Regions from separate parts of the Homo sapiens genome. Here region 1 is linked to region 2. Evidence: promoter capture Hi-C in 16 types of primary human blood cells and fetal thymus (Javierre and others, 2016). All regions are on one chromosome and are shown on one strand. Each heading gives the region's core, a stretch centred on a gene start or on the middle of the fragment in contact. The rest is flanking DNA. Distances are from core to core; before and after follow the strand shown. Region 1 overlaps SEL1L (SEL1L adaptor subunit of SYVN1 ubiquitin ligase). Region 2 holds the start of SNW1 (SNW domain containing 1).

What was found. The method cuts DNA at HindIII sites, captures the fragments that hold promoters and counts their contacts. A CHiCAGO score of 5 or more calls a contact.
Region 1: a fragment that was not itself captured here is called in contact with the fragment with the promoter of SNW1 in region 2 in 1 of 17 cell types (non-activated CD4 T cells); the score reaches 5.5 in non-activated CD4 T cells.

Annotation. Positions count from the first base shown.
Region 1 is chr14:81,523,467-81,531,224 of GRCh38, forward strand. SEL1L (SEL1L adaptor subunit of SYVN1 ubiquitin ligase) reads right to left here. Exons shown (of 21, transcript NM_005065.6): 2 at 4,235-4,272; 3 at 3,267-3,498. Among named protein-coding and RNA genes, the nearest start is that of SEL1L, 6.5 kb to the right of the region's middle. The HindIII fragment of the contact is 7,046 bases long and covers 1-6,896 here.
Region 2 is chr14:77,759,073-77,766,040 of GRCh38, forward strand. It overlaps SNW1 (SNW domain containing 1), which reads right to left and starts at 2,084. Exons shown (of 14, transcript NM_012245.3): 1 at 2,042-2,084. The coding sequence starts at 2,055. SLIRP-OT1 (SLIRP overlapping transcript 1) reads left to right here and starts at 1,696. Exons shown (of 2, transcript NR_161324.1): 1 at 1,696-2,044. RefSeq lists enhancers at 1,274-2,048, 1,956-2,275, 2,823-3,597. The HindIII fragment of the contact is 7,128 bases long and covers 1-2,402 here.

The DNA of each region.
Region 1 (7,758 bases), core at 2,124-4,623, 3.8 Mb after region 2:
TCCATCTGGCTTTTCGTCTCTATCCTTTGTAATATCCTTTATAATAAATGTAAATTTATATTTACATTTACCCATTTATCATGCTTCCCAGAGTCCTAAGTGCTAGCAAATTAATTGAACCCAAGAAGGGGGTTGTGGGAACCCTGATTTATAGCCAGTCTGTCAGAAGCACAGACAACCCGGGGCTTATGATTGGCATCTCAAGTAGCGGGGACTGGTCTTGTGAGACTGAGCCCTAAACTTGTGAGATCTAATGCTATCTCCAGGTAGTGTCAGAATTGAATTAAATCAGCAGACATCCTGCTGGTCTCTGATGGAGAATCCTCTGCAGAACTGATTGCTTACTTGGTATGTGGGGAAATACCCACAACATATCTGGTGTCAGAAGTGTTAACTCAGTGAGAAAGAGAAAGAAAAACACACCTTGGTTTGGTTTTTACTATATCCTTACAATGCTCAAATACAAAGCAAAACAAAACAAATACAAACAAACAAAAACATACTCATTAGTCTCTTTCAGAGATTGCTTGGGCACCAAATTTTCATTTCACAACAGTGCAAAGGAAATAAGAATTTATCTAGCTTTCTCTGGATGAGACTATATTTCAGGGTAATCAAAGACTTGATGAGAGAAAATTCTTTATAAAAGAATCCCAGGTAACAAATGCAGGAGGAATGGTAGAATTAGAAAGTCACCATTTTGCAACCCCTAATAATTAAAAGATCCAGGCAACAAACATAAATGGTTGCCAAAACCCCTAGGCAAAAGATTAATGAGGAACTTTAGAATGGTGAGATCAGGGTGATACCACCTGACCTCGCTAATTAATCTTAACATCAGTAAAAGTGGAAAAATCAGACACTACATGTCTCTCAATGTAAAGCAACAGAAAGTACACACCACCACCTACCTATGAAATACTCTCAATAAAAAGACAGAACCAAATCTACCCATGTCTCTAGAACTAACTCCCAGTTTATAGAATAAACAGCAGATAATGGAACAAGCTCAATGACATTACAAGTTCATGACCAGCAAGATCCAAAACGTGGGAAACTGTATAGCACAAAGGATACTGCATATTTCTTTAGCAAATAAAATGACACTTAAAAACAAAGGAGGGGCTGGGTGCGGTGGCTCACGCCTGTAATCCCAGCACTGTGGGAGGCCAAGGTGGGCAGATCACTTAAGGTCAGGAGTTCGAGACCAGCCTGGCCAACATGGTGAAACCCCAACTCTACTAAAAATAGAAGAAAATTAGCCAGGCATGGTGGTACGCGCCTGGTATCCCAGCTACTCAGGAGGCTGGGGCAGGAGAATCTCTTGAACCCGGGAGGTGGAGGCTGCAGTAAGCCAAGGTCATGCCATTGCACTCCAGACTGGGCAACAGTGCAAGACTCTGTCTCAAAAAAAAAGAACAACAACAAAAGAGGGAGAACAGCAACAGATTAAGAGAAACCTAGGTCTTAGCTTAGAAATGAATTCAAACAAATAAATTGTAAACAGACACTTGAAGCAACTAGAAAAATTAAACAGTCTGGGTATTAGGTAATAAAGGAGTAATGGCTAATTCTGTGATTTTGCTGAAAAGAACATTCTTACTAGAGAGAGACACAGAGATGTAAAAGCACATGCGGAATTTGCCTTAAAATATTCTAGGAAAGAAAAAAAGGGCAAATGTGTGTAGGGTAGTAAAGATGAAAAGACCAGCAGAATGTTGATGTTTATTGAAGCTGAGTGAGGGTTGGTAAGGGGTGTCATTTTACCCTCTACTTTTATGCATGTTTAAAAATTTCCCAGGCTTGATGTAGTGTCTCATGCCTGTAATCCCAGCACTTTGGGAGGCCAAAGAGGGAGATCACCTGAGTTCAAGGCTGCAGTGAACTATGATCGTGCCACTGCACTCCAGCCTGAGTGACAGAGTGAGACCATGTCTCTAAAAATATAAAAACTAAAAAAAAAAAAAAAAAATCCCTAATTAAAAAATGAAGAATGAATTAAATTATATTTAGTAAAAATTTTAAAATGGTAATACACACTTGGGTGAGGTACAGGGAAAGAGGTATTTTCAGAGGAAGTAAACAGAATCACTTTTCTGAAGAACAATTTAACAATGTGTATCTACTGTCTTTTAAACTTTTACATCCAATTCAGCAAATTTACTTTAAGAATTCTAAGGAAATTTTCACAGATAGGCACAAAGATACATCTAAAATGATCTCCCAGCAAAACATAAACGTTTTGGTTTATGGTACCATATATTTACAAATAAAATTTTTTATAGCCATTAACTATCAAATTGAAAATAAGCTAAATGACATGGAAAAACATTCATGGTAAACTGTTAAGTGCAAAATGCAGGCTGCAACATAGAATACACATTTTGACCCAATTTACTTTTCTTAAAACTACTGATACACCTAAAAAAATCCTGAGAGAATATTCTCCATGATGTGAGCAGCTGTTATTTCTAGTTGATGGGATTCAGGTACTTTTAATTTTTTAAAAATAGTTTTCTATTCATGAGAATGGTATATTTGTAGTAAAAAAAAATTCTATTTTTTTAAAAAGTTCAAATTTGGATCAGTTCCTGAGAGTGGTTAGTAATGGAATAATAAACAGATAAGGCAGTGATCATTGAAATAATAAATGACAGAAGGGCAACAAGACATGGTAGAATGCATACATTAATAATTTTTAAAAGGATTAATATTTAGAAGACTATTGTGAAAAAGGTCAAGTTTTAAATTGAAAAGTAGAGGTTTCAAGATTGTGAAAGTTAGAATAGGATGGAAGTACACACAAGCGTCAGCTGAGGGATAAACACCTAAATCAAATTACCTAGGATGATCGACAAGGTTATTGTAGTAATAATCCTACCACAATCCTGAAAATAACCATAGTGGCATGTTAGACAGTTCTTCCTGAGTTTCTGTTTTGTATGCTACCCTGACATATTATTTTTTTAAATTTCTCAGTGAGAAATGTATTTACATACTTGATTCCAAAAAGAAACGTCAGGATATTAATAAAAAGATAAATGCAATCTCATCTATTGAATTCAGCTTATGTAACTTGGGTCAAATCTGTTAAGTGAATAACTTTGGTATATTAAAATCTAGAAATTCTCTCCAAACTACACTCCATATATTATTTGTGGGTAATAATCAGTGAAGCCAGTCTTCTTCAGCCTCTTTATTCATTAGCTTAAAATTTTCAGTTGTCCCCTAAATAAATCAAAAAGCAAGGAAAATGTCCAGACTACCTGGTTTCCGTACTTTCTTTGGCTCTTCATAGTCCTTGTTTTCTGGATTTGGAGACTCTAGAAAGCTGATATCTTCTGTGACACTTTCCCCCTCTTGGCTCTTGAGGCTGTCTTCCTCTTCTTGAATAGAGGATTCTAATTCAGATTCTTCTGAATCAAGAAATATTTGACCAGCAACTACTCTGCCTGCAGTAGTATGGTCCTTTACTGACTCATCTGATGTCAAAGTAGTCTGAGAATATAAAGTATTTTTAGTTATCAACAATGCCAAGACTTTCCCCAACCCTATTTGACCGTTATTTTTACTAATCCAGATATCACATCTCCTTCAGCTCCTTGAAGTGCCACACTCACTCATCTCTATAGGCTTTGGCATGTGTCCATCACGTGCCTTCCTTCATCACCTAACTTGTAGCCTTTTTGAATTTCAACTTAGATGTTACTTCCCCCAGAAGCCTTCCTTAATTCCCAAAGTCTGGGTTCGGTTTTCCTCCACATGCCCCCAACATACCTTATACTTCTACTTCCTGCTTTTATCTACATTCCCTCAAATCTAAAGATCAGAGCTCATAACTGACTGCAGGGTTGGGCTTGGTTAGTACTTGGAAGGGAGAGCTCAATCAACCAATAAGTGCATTAGCTCACTGGATTTATTTTTGAGAACTGGAAAGTGGAAACAAATGACACAGGTTAAATCTTCAAACTTACACACACACACACACACACACACACACACACACAGAGCACATTCAAGTTGAAATGAAATATTTACTATTCCCTCTTGTAGGTCAGTAATTTTTTCTTCCTCCAGAAAAACTAGAACTAATACTAATACCATCTGTCTTTTTCTGTCCTTTTTAATTCAACTGTTACTCAAAAGTTGCAGACCTCATATCCTTTCTAAGATACATAATTCATCCTTTTAAATCAGGCAGCAAATACTGGCCAATACACATTTTAGTACATACCTTGGAATCTAAGGATTCATCCTGGCTGCCTTCTTCATCTGCAAAGAAATTTTAAGACAATTTAGTAATCTTTCTTGTTGGGAAATTAGTTATTATTAAAAGAAAACATGTGAAAAGTATAGCAAATAATAATCAAACATTGGATAAATAAACATAGAATTATTTTAAAGTTAGCTATATTCAGCAATTGTTCAGAAAAGATCAAGTGAAAGGAAAAAAAAAATGGGTTGGGGGTTTAGTTTCTCTCTTTCTCCAGAAAAGACATTAGCTCCATCTGTTACAAAGGTAGGAAGACCAACAGCCTCCACCAACAAAAACAGGTATTTCTTCACATTCCATCCAATTCTTGTGGGTCTATTTAGTCTATTTCTGAGAATGAGTTACTAAGTTCATAAAAATAAATCTCTAATTTCATACTCCGGGCTTCCACCTATTCTGTTTGTCTGCTCAGGATCTTGAGTTAGAGTAGCCCATTTTAGTGCTCATTAGTATTTGTATTGTTTACTACTATAGTAAGGATGGAAACTAAGAATTATTATTTGATAGCAGAGTTGCAAAACAATTATATTTAGGATTTGTGTTCTACTCTACTCAGAGATAACCAGATGCAGGTAAAAAGCAGCATGGTCCTATCATATATTCACTCAATTGAGAGCTATGTAGTAAGAAATCAATAACTTACATTAAACAATGAAAAACAGCCACCGGTTACACCTTGCTTACACATTCACACAGCCTGCTTTGGTGTTGTCTGATTACATTAATTTTCCTTCTGTTACTTTTTCCATGTTTTCTGACTATTACTTTTCTGGCTGCTTGTTACTCTTCTTCCTGCTCTTACATAAACACATGCAACAACTCAATGTTCAGATGGAAATGCTTGATTTTTGTATTCCTTGCCAGTTTAAAACAGCGAATCTGTCAGATCATCTTTAAGTTTCCCTCTTGCTCTTAAAATTACCTGATTTTATTCAGGAGTGAGTTTCAGTTTTACCTGCTCCATAAGCTGTATGAGAAATTAACCAGTAGACAAAACCCTGTAAGACCATGTCATTTTTTACTAGAAAATTTGCTACTATAGTTGTCATTTATACTTTACTTCATATGGCTATATCCTAAATATCATTTGTAATTTGCAACTCTAAAATATAACAAAAAACCTGTGTTAGAGTTTGTTATCAAAGTACTGAGTTAAGACTAAGAAGTATAACCAACTCAATTATGCACAAAATACAAGACACTACCTCACAATATTTCTTTCGAATATTTGAGGAAACTAGTCCATTAGTGAGGTTTTGCCATATATGAAAGTGCTGTCAAGTCAAAGAAAATTTAAATTACAGCTACTATTCATATTCACCTACTTTTAGATTACCTTCAAAGTATGTTTTACTTCTGGCAGGTGGAGAGAAGGGTATGCCACATATTAGTCCCACAGCGCCCATAACATTAGGCAATGATGTCAGTTAATTAACAATTGTCCTTCATGCTAACTTCTTCACAAGTATTACCCAAAGCCCAATTTCTAACATGTGGTTCAAATTCCATTCTCAGCAAATCTTTAGATAAATTTAAAAAACCCATCTCTATAATATATCAAAGTTGTACTGTAAGTATATGTAATTAATCACAAACTTCAACTAGTTAATATATCAAAACAGATATTAAATGTTTAAACATATATGAAATACCCCCAAATACTGAATGAAACTTTAGATTAGCTGGAACTCTAAATCACTATCACTACATTGCTACATTTAGTACCTCACCACAACAGGTTACATAGGTAGCTAACAGGTGAATCATATGGACACATCTGTAAATACACTTAAAGACATGTACATTTCACACAGCACAAGCTGTTAGGCATTAGAGTAGCAAAACGTGTTTTCAAACTCCAAGAAACATGATTTGTAACATCAGAGTTATTTCATGTGAATTGCATCATGCTTCTCTTTCTCTCCCTCTCTCTTCGCAACCTGGACTATATGCTAATATTACTGGTGAATAAGATAATTCTCAGTTACTAAACTGGGAAAGCCTACTCCAGATGGTAGTCTCAAAGCATAAGCTATTTTCTTTTTCAAACTGATATAAACATTCACACAACACTTTTTAAAGAGTTGTTTATAACCTAGGAACTTCTGATAAGTAGTATTCAGGTAAGGATTAAAGAGACTGAAGTTATGCATAAATAAAAAGCAAACAGTAATGTTTTCATCAGAACACAGATATCAAGCAACAAGAAAAAAATGCAAAAGGATTAAGTTATGCGCTTCTCGCTCATCAGCATCACATCCAAATGGTTCATATTATTTTATTAACTGTACACCTTCCTTTGAAAAGGACCAGTTTTTATTTTTATTGTATTAGCTAACAAAACTGCAAAGTACCAGAGATATGCTTTCAGGGAAAAGTGATCACTACAAAATCATTTTTCCATTCATCACGTAAATTAAACAGACTGATAACCTTTAAACACAGAAAGTCTAAATAGTTTGGTGAAAACAGACCAGATATCCTGTTCTCTGCTTTAGCTCTAAATTGGTACAGATCCTAAGATACTCTCGATTCTAAATTTCTTCAATTCTGAGACCTGGAGAGCTAGGTCTGGAACCTGGCTTCATCACATGTTAATTCTGACACATGGTTCAGTAACAAAAGCTTGCTCAGCCTCTGTTTCTCAATCTGTCAAAAGGGGTAACACCTCTGTCCCGCTGACTCACAATATTTTAAGGAACGACCAAAACAGTGAAATTAAACATCCTCTGCTGTCTGAAAACTACTCTCTGAATTTATAATTATTACCTGAAATACCTGGCAGTGGACCTAACTAAAATGACTAACACTGCTTGGCACAAAGAAAAAAAAAGGTTAAGCCATTTGCCTCTTCTGCCAAAAATAAGAAAGCATGCATTTGTGAGAAAAATTATAACCTTTTCACTATTATCCTGAGAAAATGAAGAAATATCTTTTTAGTGTCCTCCTTTAAATTTATTAATAGAAAAGAGAAAATGTTTCTAATATTAGCCATGTGTCAATGACGAGGATATGTTCTGAAAAGTGTATCACTGGGCGATTTCCTTTTTGTATACTTAAACCTAAATGGGATAGCCTTCTACATACCTGGGCTACATAGTGTAGCCTGTTGTTCCTAAGCTACAAATCTGTACAGCATGTGACTATACAGACTACTGTAGGCAACTGTAACATAACAGTAAGTATTTGTGTACATAAACATAGCTAAACATAGAAAAGCTACAGTGAAAATATGGTGTAAAAGATTACAAAACATATACCTGTCTAGGGCACTTACCATAAATGGAACTTGCAGGATTAAGAGTTGCTGTGGGTGAGTGAGTGAGTGAATGTGAAGCCTAGGATGTTACTATACACTATTGTAAACACTGTACACTTAAACTACACTAAATTTATTTTTTAAAAAGTGTGCTACCATGTTCCAATGGCTACAATGTCACTAGGTGACAGGAATTTTTCAGCTCCATTATATTCTTACAGGGCCA
Region 2 (6,968 bases), core at 834-3,333:
TCAGGGAAATGTGTTTACTGATTTAAAGGATATTACAAAGAATACTGAGGAACACCAGATGGTAGGTATGGAAAGCTCTGGAGTCCTCAAGACTGGCCATTTAAAGATCGCATTCTGCCACTGCAATTTTAAGCACGCAATACCCATGACAGGCCAGATGATGTGGTGGCTCACGCCAGTAATGCCAGCACTGTGGGAGGCTGAGATGGGTAGATCAGATCAGTTAAGCCCAGTTCAAGACCAGGCTGGGCAACATGGCAAAACCCCATCTCTACTAAAAAAAACAAAAATTAACTGGGCATCATGGCAAGCGTCTAGAGTCCCAGCTACTCTAGGGCGCTGAGGCAGGAGGATCACCTGAGCCTTGGGAGGTTGAGGCTGCAGTGGGCTGTGATTGGGCCACTGCACTCCAGCCTGGGCAAGAGTGAGACCCTATATCAAAAAATAAAATAAATAAAAAATACCCATGACATCTCTAGAAATTTTTCCTGTGTGTCCATTTCAAATTCCACCTTTTCCACAAAGTCTCCCCTCATAACTTTACTAGTCTATGACACAGTGTCTCACACCTGGGGAGCACTCAAATGTTTGCTGCCTGTAACATTTACTAAACAAACTCTTGGCTGGGCATGGTAGCTCATGCCTGCAATCCCAGCACTTTGGGAGGCCTAGGTGAGAAGATTGATGGAGGCCAAGAGTTGGAGACCACTCTGGCCAACGCAGTAACACCCTATTTCTAGTTTTTTTTTAAAAAAATTTCAGATGCCGGGCATGGTGGCTCATGCCTGTAATCCTAGCACTTTCGGAGGCCGAGACAGGAGGACTGCTTGAGGCCAAGAATTCAAGACCAACCTGGCCAACACAGCGAGACCGCATCTCAAAAAATAAAGTTAAAAAAAAAAGCAAAAAAATTTTAGAAACGAGGGTGGGGAGAAAACTCTCCAGCCCACATAACTTATTCCATTCAATTCTTTTTGCACTAAGGTTAGTATTACACAAATGCACATTTTGTGTTCTGTAATTGTTTTATGTCTGTATACCTTGCACCCCTATCTTCCCTGTTGCCAAAGACAGATTTTCTTCTGTGTACACAACCCCCAGGACAGAGCAAGGCACCAACAGTAATTCCCAAAATAATTTTTTGATTAAAACTTTTGGAGTCATACTGTCATCAGCCAGAAAAAAAAACATGCGTGAGGAGAATGAAGGGTGTTAAAAGAGCTCAAGCTGATGTCCTGAAAGGATTACTTTATCTATAACCTTCCTGAACACTAGCCTTTTCCTGTTGAGTTCGCATGGAAAGTTTTTCCACTTAAAATGGGGCAGCAAGGCTGGGAACTAGTAGGAGTAGCGTAACTTCTCGGACTCTCCCACTGAAAAGCATCTTTTTCTTAAAGGCGGAGAGCACTTTACAGACGGTTACTAAGGTAACCGGAAACAGCAAAACTGAGGTGGTTCTATCTACGGAAGAAATTCTAAGCTCCAAAGTTAAAATGCGGAGCAGTGGCGCATATCAGCAGACGGCGGTCACTACTGTGGCTCATTTAAATCTGTGTTCAGCTCCGGGCCTCTTTTTTCAGGAATCCTTGTTTCGGGACACCCAGTGGACAGCGAAAGGAGAGAGACCACCACAGGCAAACGGCCGGAAAGCCGCGCAGTCGCAGCCCGCGCGCTTCACTCCGCCCAAATAAGCCACTACCGTCACCAACCCCATCTCGTTCGCCCGAGCCGCGGACCTGAGGGAGCGCTGTCCGCTCCCCGCAAGATGCTCACGCGAAAAACCCACTCTTCAGTGTCTGAGACCACTCCGCAGCTTTCGGCCTCGGTGAGCGGGTGAACTAAACCCGGGAAACCGCTGAAAGACCCCAGCTTCGACTAGGCCTAGTCGTAGCGGCGGCCAGCGGGAGGGCGTAGCCGTAGTCTTGGCCCACGTCATTCTGTGCCCCGGGTCAGGTCACCGCCCGGAGGGTATGGGAAGAGAAATGAAGAAGACTGGTACTCCCAGACCCTTCCGTATCGAGGACCCCAATCAACAACCCACCTGGTGAGCGCCATCTTCTTCCGCTTCTTCCAGCGCGAGCGACAGCACCGCTGGGCGGGTCTTTCCAGATGATGAGGAGCGGAAAGGAAGGAGTGCGCGATGCGCAGGCGCTCTGGCCGAAAAGGCCTTCTGGGATTTGTAGTTCTTTGAACAGGAGTACCGTTTGTATTCTGACCAGACCAAGCGGTTATCAAGGAATAATCTCTTCAGCTAGCAACAAATGCATAACTCGATCGCTTATATGCGACATGATAGGGCGTTCCCTAGGCAAAATATCAAAGATACAGGGAGATGCCTTTTAGGCCGCTTTATTACGTTCCTTACTCAGTCCCGTTCCCCGAGAAGGGGTACAAAATACAAAAGCTTCCCGGGGACAGCTACTTTAAGTAAGAGTGATAGGGCGTTTAAAACGACAGGTAATAATGAGACTAGCTAATGGAGAGTCCTTGGACTCTCTGAAAACATTCACACTCAAAACTTTTCTTTAAACCATATCCTCTCACCCGCCAAAACACTCTCTTGGGGAGATATTTCGTAATCCTTGGTAATTTACCGAGTGTCTGGGTTCTCTGCCCAGGGTATGACAAGGCTGAAATCTCATAGGAGGCTCTGGAGAAAAATCCATCTCCTAACTCATTCTTGTTGGCAAAAATCAGTTCCTGGCGGTTGTGGGATCGAGTTCCCTGTTTTGTTTTGTGCTGTTAGTGGTGGCCACCCTCAGCTCCTAGGGGTCACTCTCGAGTCCTTCCCACATGAGCCCTATTTATTGGTAGTTCACAACATGGATATTTGCTTTCTGAGGCACATCTTTCTGACTCCTCTTCTGCCACTGTTGGAGAAAAATGCCCTGCTTTTAAAGGGCTCATGTGATTAGATCAGGAGCACCTGGATAATCTCCCTATTTTAAGATCAACTCTTGGCCGGGCGCAGTAGCTCACACTTGTAATCCTAGCACTTTGGGAGGTCGGGGCGGGCGGATTGCCTGAGCTCAGGAGTTCGACAAAGCCTGGGCAACATGGTGAAACCCTGTCTCTACTAAAAATACAAAAATTAGCTGGGCGTTGTGGCGCGCTCCTGTAGTCCTAGCTACTGGGGAGGCTGAGGCAGGAGAATCGTGTGAATCAGGAGACGGAGGTTGCAGTGAGCCAAGATCACGCCACTGCACTCCAGCCTGGCGACAGAGTGAGACTGCGTCTCAAAAAATAAAAATAAATAAATAAATAAATAAATAAATAATATAAAAGAATAGCTGGGTGTGGTGATGTGCTCTTGTTTTCTCAGCTACTTGGGAGGCTGAGGTACAAGAATCGCTTGAACCCAGGAGGTGGAGGTTGCAGTGAGCCGAGATTGCACCATTGCACTCCAGCGTGGGTGACAAAGTAAAATTCTGTCTCAAAAAAAAAAAAAAAATCAACTCTGCCACACCGCATAACAGAATCAGAATCTTCATAGTCATGGCCCCAGGGGTTATGTAGGTCAGGTACTGTGGGGGTTGGGTGAGGAGGAGATCTTGGGGGATATCCTAGAATTCTGCCTGCCACAGCATGTAAACCAAAAAAACAAAAAGAAAAAATCTTTTGGTAAATACAGGATTGTTAATCACATTGTGTAATATAACCTGCATGGCCTGGGAGCCCGAAGATTAGAGTTTAAGATGTAGCTTTGGCTGGGTGTGGTGGCTTGTGCCTTTAATCCCAGCACTTTGGGAGGCTGAGGCGGGCAGATCACCTGAGGTCGGGAGTTTGAGACCAGCCTGACCAACATGGAGAAACTGCGTCTCTACTGAAAATACAAAATTAGCCGGGCGTGGTGGTGCTTGCCTGTAATCCCAGCTACTCGGGAGGCCGAGGCAGGAGAATCGCTTGAACTCGGGAGGCGGAAGTTGTGGTGAGCCGAGATCGTGCGTCGTTGCACTCTAGCCTGAGCAACAAGAGTGAAACTGTCTCAGAAAAAAAAAAAAAAAAAAAAAAGATGTAGCTTCAGCACCAATAAATTCTTATAGGGCAAGTCATTTAATTTATTTGGGCCCCAGTTTTATTGAACTTAAAATGCTGATCATGTTATCTGCTTTACCTATATTTATATAAATGTAAAATAATTATATACAATACAGCAGAGTATGAGCCTTAAATGAGGTAATGTAGGTGGATATGTTTTTACTTAACTCTTAAGTACTATGTAAATATGTTAGTTATTACAGTTAATATTTTGGTTGACAGTGATCTACTTCAACCTCTGCTCCAGGAATGTATTATTTCTAAAAGGAGAAAAACAGAGAAGCAAATTATAGAACGTCCTGGAAGCCAAGATCAAGGAGCTTAGATTTAGTTCAGCAGGTGATTTGCAGCTGAAGGAGGACTTAAGTAGAGGGCCTGGGTCAAAGGAACAGGCAAGAAAGACAATTCTTAAGGCAGAATGGGTTTCTATGGCAATGAGAGACAAAGGAGGCTACTGAGGACAAGGTTAAAATAATTAACATGGGAAATCAGTAAGACATAGACCAAGACCTGGGATGCAGGATTGAAAGAACAGGGTGGAGAAGAGCTTTTGCAATCCACTCTCATTTTCCACAGAGGCACATCATGCAAGGCATTTCCACCAGTCATAGTCCCTCGCTGTTTTGGGGGTGTGTAAAGAATAGAAACTGACTTTAATAGCAATCCTATCAAAACAATTAAGAAAGCAAATCTACTGCAAACGTGATACAATATTATACCCAAAGGCCTAGTGCTTTCTTTGGTTTTGTTGGGGAGGGGGTTTGGTGTTAAGCTATGCTGAATCTTCAGTGCCTATCCATCCCTCATTATCATAGGTAATTAGCAGCTGCCTGCTCATGTAGAGAGCCCAGTGCATGCTGGAATCAGTAATGCGCCAGGTTGCAAGAAGCAATCAATTCACTCCAGTCTTAGAATTCTGGATAGAGAGTAGAATTGTTCTCAGAGAACCTAGGGCCTAATTTGATTCCTAAGTAGGTGTGGCTATGTAGCCACAAGTAATATAGCTTGTGAGGTGGTAGGGAGGACAAGTTAAGCACATATTCTGGAGTCAGCTTTCCTGCCTTCTGATCCCAGCTCCCTAATTTATGAGCTGTAGATTCTGGATAAGTCACTTCTCTCTGTCTCAGTTTTCTCACTGGCCAATAAAAAGGGTGAGGGGCGTGGAATCAGTATAACTTATCCTCAATAAAGCTATTGGGAGGATTAAATGAGTTAATCATGTGAAGTGCTTAGAAAAATGCCCAGCATAGAGTAAGCGCTCAAAAATTAATTATGCTTTCTGGCTTTAATGAATTGGCCTTAATTTATTAAGGTTCAGGTTTTGCATCTGCAAAGTGAGGCAGTTGAACTCAATTTTATTTCTGGGGTACCTTCCCACTAACATTTTCTACTATAGGATGTTTTTTTAAATTTACTTCAATGCCAGTATTTTATGCTCTGATGCCATTATGCTTTAGTTATTATGGCTATATTATTATAATCATTCTCTGATAAAAAGTAGAGCTGCTCCACCACACCGTTCTTACTTTTTGGATGTGTTTTACGTGCCCTCTCAATGTTTAAAATTTTTTTTTAATTAAAATATTGGTTTGCATTAAAGCATAGTTAAAAAGGCTAGAGCCAATGATTACTTAGGAACTGCGAAAGAAATAACGTATCTTTACGATGGAGAGATTTGGCTGTCATCACTTTTGCTTCACTAACAGTGGAACAATCTGACACTAGGTGCTTTTAATAGGAAGTTCCCCAGTTTTCTTTCTTTCTTTCTTTCTTTCTTTCTTTCTTTCTTTTTTTTTTAGACCGAGTCTTCCTCCGTTGCCCAGGGTGGAGTGCAGTGGTGCGATTTCGGCTTACTGCAACCTCTGCCTCCCTAGTTCAAGCGATTCTCCTGCCTCAGCCTCCCGAGTAGCTGGGATTACAGGCATGAGCAAGCACGCCTGGCTAATTTTTGCATTTTTAGTAGAGATGGGGTTTCACCATGTTGGCCAGGCTAGTCTTGAACTCCTGGCCTCAAGTGATCCACCCACCTTGGCATCCCAAAGTGCTGGGATTACGGGTATGAGCCACTGCACCTGGCCGGAAGTTCACCAATTTTCTGATCAAACCAGACCTAATGTCCAGTTCACAAGAAATTCAGGGGATAGAGTAACAAGTTTAAAAGCATGAGGAAACAATCAGTAAAATCCAGAATGTGAGACATTCTACAAGACAACTGACTGAGACTCTACAAAATGTCAATGTCATGGAATGGATGTGAATAGAATAGATGAAAACAGATTGATGAGACATGACACATAAAATTAGTAAACCTTGATGGGATTCTGGTTCAGTTGGGGAAAACTATAAAAAATATTCTTGGGACATTTGGAGAAAGTTGCATATGGAGTGATAATAGACAACATTGTAGAATTTTTGCTAAATTTCTTAGGAGTATTAATGACATTGTGGTTAAGTAGAAGAACGTTCTTATTCTTGGGAGATGCATGCCAGAGGATTTGGGGATGAAATGTGTCAACTTACTTTCTTCTTTTTTGTTTGTTTTTTGTTTTGAGACACAATTTTGCTCTTGTCACCCAGGCTGGAGTACAGTGACGCAGTCTTGGCTTACTGCAATCTCTGCCTCCCGGGTTCAAGTGATTCTCCTGCCTCAGTCTCCCAAGTAGCTGGGATTATGGGCGCCTGCCACCATGCCCAGCTAATTTTTGCGTTTTTAGTACAGACGAGGTTTTACCATGTTGGCCAGGCTGGTCTCGAACTCCTGACCTCAGGTGCTCCATCCACCTGGCCTCCCAAAGTGCTGGGATTATAGGCCTGAGCCACTATGCCCAGCCTCAATTTACTTTCAAATAGTTTATCTCAACAACAAAAAATGTGTGTGTGTGTGTGTTTATAGTGAGAGAGTGTGAGAGAGCATGAAAGGGAAAGCAAAA